Regions from separate parts of the Homo sapiens genome. Here region 2 is linked to region 1. Evidence: promoter capture Hi-C in human tissues and cell types (Jung and others, 2019). All regions are on one chromosome and are shown on one strand. The core of a region is centred on a gene start or on the middle of the fragment in contact, and the rest is flanking DNA. Distances in the headings are between cores, read along the strand shown.

Region 1 (2,700 bases), core at 126-2,625:
CTAAATTGATCCACCTGCCTCGGCCTCCCAAAGTGCTAGGATTACAGGTGTGAACCACCATGCCCAGCCTCTGAAAATAATTTTAATTTTAAAAAAATAATGACAGTGGGATTGGCACCTACTCATATCCCCATATGTCCAACGCGAAGTTGGTCTACCTTGTTCTTGCTTTGAAGCTGACCTCCCCACAGAGTTACGATCCAAGAGCCAACAGTCCAACAGCCAATATTATTAGGGAAAGTAATTCTAATATTTACTAAAGCCCCTAGGAGAATTTCAACAAGTATCCTACACACGTTCTGTGTGGCTGATAGGAAGGATTTTTTTTTTAAGAGACAGGGTCTCACTCCGTTGTCCAGGTTGGAATGCAGTGGTGCGATCACAGCTCACTGCAGCCTCAACCTCCAGGGCTCAAGTGATCCTCCCACCTCAGCCTCCTGGGTAACTGAGACCACGGGCATGTGCCACCAATCCTGGCTAATTTTTTTAAATTTTTTGTAGATATAAGGTCTTGCTGTTTTGCCCAAGCTGGTCTCAAACTTCTAGGCTCAAGGGATTCTCCAACCTTGGCCTCCCAAGTAGCTAGGATTATAGGCATGAGCCACCGTGTCCAACTCCAGTGCCAAGCAGGTGATCAAGAAGTGTTTGATAGGCCGGGTACAGTGGCTCAGGCCTGTAATCCCAGCACTTTGGGAGACCGAGGAGAGCAGATCACTTGAGGTTTGAGATCAGTCTTTCCAACATGGTGAAACCCTGTCTCTACTAAAAATACAAAGACTAGCTGGGCATGGTGGTGGGCACCAGTAATTCCAGCTACTCAAGAGGCTGAGGAGGGAGAATTGCTAGAACCCAGGAGGTGGAGGTTGCAGTGAGCCGAGATTGCTCCACTGTGCTCCAGGCTGGGTGAAAGAGTGACACTCCATCTCAAAAAAAAGTGTTTGATAAATTTATTTATTTAATACCGATTTATTGATTGATTGATACTCTTCGGAGCTTTCCTTAATGAGCCAGTTTCTTCCATAATGCAATGAATGAAAGGACCTCTCAGATTCAGGCATCTGAGTGCCCGACTGGAGTCTGGGACCCCCCAGACCTCTCTGCCTGGGAGCTTCCATGAAGCTCAGCCTGAGCTGGAAGGAGACCGTAGGGAGATGTCCTAGTGAGAGTGAATCCCTAGTCACTGTTTCCTCTTCTTACCCACTCGATGATCCCAAAGCACACCCATCTCCAAAAGAACAGGTCACATGTGGCAGAGGAGAAACAAAATAATTAGCATCCGCTTCCTTAACAAGGAGCTATGGGGACGAAGTCTCCTAGAGTCCCCAGACTATAAATACCCTGATGTTCCCCTGGCTCCCCCACTCACCTGCAGAGTCTGGGGGCGGGGGGGTACACATATGAATCCTTCCCATAGACATCAGGCTAACCCCAGCGATCACAGGTGAGTAGCCCCCATGCCCTTCCTAGGGGTTTAGTGCTGACCTCGGGATCCTCTAGCAGTTGGTGGAGAAGGAGGCTTCCCGGGACCCTCCCCTTGGTGATGCCATCCTGGTGAGCAGGTGAGGGATGGGGAAAGGATTGAGCTGAGGGTGGGGGTGGAGGGTTGTGGGAGAGGAATCTGTCTCCTTCCTAGAGGCCGAGAGAGAGAGAAGAGACTGAGACCAAGTCTAGACTCTCTGAGTGGACAAAGCACGCAGACGGCAGACCCTCTGTGGCAGGATATGTGGAGGAAAAGCACTGAGGGTCTGCAGCTGCAGGACACCTGCACAGATAGGAGAGGTCTTGAGAAACAAGTTTCTCCAATGCAGCAGCTCCCCAAGTGTGGTCCCTGGGCTAGAAGCACCAGCATCCTCTGGAAACTATCTAGAAGTGCTGGTTCTTACACCAGACATTTCAGGGAAAGGGCTTAGCTTTTTGTGTATGATGAGTTTGGGAGCGGGGGGGAGGGGGCGGGGGGATTGTTTTGTTTGTTTGTTTGTTCTTTCTGTTTTTGAGACAGGGTCTCGCTCTGTTGCCCAGTCTGGAGTGCAGTGGCATTATCATAGCTCATCGCAGCCTCGACCTCCCAAGCTCAAGTGATCCTCCCTCCTCAGCCTCCCGGGTACCTGGGATAACAGACATATACCACCATGCCTGGCTAATTTTATTTTCGTAGAGGCAGGGATCTTCCTATGTTGCCCAGGATGGTCTCACACTCCCGGGCTCAAGAGATCCTCCTACCTTGGCCCCCCAAGCAGCTGGGACTAACAGGTGTGTGCCACCATGTCCAGCTAATTTTTTATTTTGTAGAGATGGGGGTCTCACTGTGTTGCCCAGGTTGGTCTCTAACTCCTGGACTCAAGGGATTCTCCCACCTCAGCCTTCTGAGTAGCTGGGACTATGGAAGCATGCCACCATGCCCAGCAGATTGTTTTATTTTTTGTAGATCCAGGGCGGGATTGGGGGTGGGGTGGCCTCACTTTGTCTGCCAGGCTGGTCTTGAACTCCTGGCCTCAAGCAATTCTCCCACTTCAGCCTCCCAAAGTGCTGGGATTACAGGTGTGAGCCACCATGCCTGGCCCGCTTTTTGTGTTTTAACAAGCCTTCCAGGTGACCCTGAAGCGTGCTCAAGGTTGAGAACCGCTGCTCTATGCAACCCAAGTCAACAACTGAGGACTGTTACAAATATGTTGCCAGGAAGGGAATCGCAGTATTCTATCC
Region 2 (2,700 bases), core at 72-2,571, 160 kb before region 1:
TCCATTCCTCTCTAATATTAATGGTGTGACTGGAGGTGAGAACAGCTTGCTATAAACACAGTCCCAGGAGTCCTCATTCAGCTTCAAGTGTGTGCCTGTGTGTGTGTCTGTACTAATTGTGCATATGTGTGTCTGTCTTTAGTGGGGAGAGTGATTTCAAAATAACATCATTAAACAGAATTGAAAGGAGCCTTGCTAATTAACTGAAACAAGATATGAAGTAGCAATAATTTAATGTTTTCAACATGGATAAATAATTAAAGTTGCAAAGACCTAGGCATAAAAGAATATGACATACAAATGAGGTAGAGATATCCCTTTTAAGAGTAGAGGGACGCAGTGGCTCACGCCTGTAGTCCCAGTACTTTGGGAGGCCGAGGCAGGCAGATCACGAGGTCAGGAGATCGAGACCATCCCGGCTAACATGGTGAAACCCTGCCTCTACTAAAAATGCAAAAAAATTAGCCGGGCGTGGTGGCGGGCGCCTGTAGTCCCAGCTACTTGGGAGGCTGAGTCAGGAGAATGGTGTGAACCTGGGAGGCGGAAGTTGCAGTGAGCCGAGATCGCGCCACTGAACTCCAGCCTGGGCAACAGAGCGAGACTCCGTCTCAAAAAAAAAAAAAAAAAAAAAAAAAGTAAAGGGACCTGGACTCAATATATTCCAAAAGGTGACTCAGAATACAGAGGTCAGCACGCAAGGCAGCATATGGAAATAAACAAAGGATGCATTTCAATTCATGGGACATGGAGCCAATTTATTAAAGTGCAAATAGAAAACATCAGGACAAGCCTGGGCGTGGTGGCTCACGCCTGTAATCCCAGCACTTTGGGAGGCCGAGACAAAAGGATCACTTGAGGTCAGGAGTTTGAGACCAGCCTGGCCAACATGGTGAAGCCCCATCTCTACCAAAAAATATAAATCTTAGCAGGGCATGGTAGCAGGCACCTGTAGTCTCAGCTACTTGGGAGGCTGAGGCAGGAGAATCTCTTGAACCCAGGAGGTGGAGGTTGCAGTGAACCCACATCATGCCACTGCACTCCAGCCTGGCCGACAGAGTGAGACTCTGTCTCAAAACCAAACCAAACCAAACAAAATCTGGGCAGAGGGACTTCTTGTATTTTGAAGCTTCAGCAGCAATGAAGTCACCTCATAGTGCAACATCTTCTGACACCATCTCCCATCACTTACCTCTCACAGATTTCCCTGCCACACTGGCTTCCTCGTTGGCCTTGAACATCTGAAACCTTCCTCTACACCTTTGCACCGGCCATTCTTTCTGCTGGGCACACACATTCCCAGATATCCTCATGGCTCCCGCCCTGTCTTCCTTGAGGTCTCATTTCTCTTTTTAAAAATTTCAGCTTTTCTTACAGATTAAAGGGTACATGTGCAGGTTTGTTACACGGGTAAATTGTGTGATGCTGAGGCTTCGGGTCCTAACAATCCCATCACTCAGGAGGTAAGCATAGGACCCAACAGATGGTTCTTCAGCTCACATCCCCCTCCCTCCATCCTCTGTCCAGCGGTCTCCAGTGTCAATTGTTCCCATCTTTGTGTTCACGTATATTCGATGTTTAGCTACCATTTATAAGTGAGAACATGCGATATTTGGTTTTCTGTTCTTGCATTAGGTCGCTCAGAATAACGGCCTCTAGCTTCATCCATGTAGCTGGAAAGGACATGATTTCATTCTTTTTTATGGCTGCCTAGTATTCCATGGTGTATAAGTACCACAGTTTCTTTGTCCAATCCACTATTGATGGGCACCTATCACCTTGACTGCTAGTATTCTCTGGACACCTAGGAAAATTAACATCCTCTATCCACCCTCGCCTTTTTACCTTCTTTCTTTTTCTTGCTAGCCCTGGTTACCATCTGACACAGTATATGATTTACTTGTATTCTTCTCCATACTTCACTGTAGGAACTTTTGTTTTTCAGCACTGTTCACTCATTGTCTAGACAGAGCCTGGAACGTTGACAACACTCAATTTAAATTCCTCAAATCCATGAAAGAATTTATCATTAAAGTATTGGTTTTTGTTTTGTTTTGTTTTGTTTTGTTTGAGATGGAGTTTTGCTCTTGTAGCCCAGGCTGGATGGAGTGCAATGGCGCCATCTTGGCTCCCTGCAACCTCTGCCTCTCAGGTTCAAATGATTCTCCTGCCTCAACCTCCCGAGTAGCTGGGATTACGGGCACGCACCACCACATCCGGCTAACTTTGTATTTTTAGTAGAGATGGGTTTTCTCCATGTTGGTCAGGCTGGTCTTGAACTCCCGACCTCAGGTGACCCGCCCACCTCTGCCTCCCAAAGTGCTGGGATTACAGGTGTGAGCCACCGCACCCGGCAAAGTTTTTAAATAAATGACCATTTGGGGAAAAGTTGAGCATCATGGGAAAGGAATTCCTAAGCAGAGATGGGATGGGAGATCTCATAAAGTAGACCAGATTCACACACAAAATATAGAAATTAACTTGCTGACTGTAGGATATAAATAATAGCTTTTCTGATGGGTGAAAAAAGCATGCTTATGTCATGTATTTTCTCTCTCTCTCTTTTTTTTTTTTTTATAGTCACCTCTACCACATGGAACCAGAGAATGATACACGAATTTCAGAATTTCGACTTCTGGGATTTTCAGAAGAACCCAGACTGCAACGATTTCTCTTTGGTAAAAGGCAAAAGATTTATACAAT

Evidence for each region. Contacts are between HindIII fragments. The study calls those that stand out against the background at their distance.
Region 2: a fragment that was not itself captured here is called in contact with the fragment with the promoter of OR1I1 in region 1 in 4 of the 25 tissues and cell types used here (bladder, liver, lymphoblastoid cells and 1 more).

What each region holds. Positions count from the first base shown.
Region 1 is chr19:15,080,836-15,083,535 of GRCh38, forward strand. It overlaps OR1I1 (olfactory receptor family 1 subfamily I member 1), which reads left to right and starts at 1,376. Exons shown (of 2, transcript NM_001004713.2): 1 at 1,376-1,441. The HindIII fragment of the contact is 16,029 bases long and covers 1-2,700 here.
Region 2 is chr19:14,924,462-14,927,161 of GRCh38, forward strand. No RefSeq gene overlaps it. Among named protein-coding and RNA genes, the nearest start is that of OR7C2, 16 kb to the right of the region's middle. The HindIII fragment of the contact is 7,045 bases long and covers 1-2,700 here.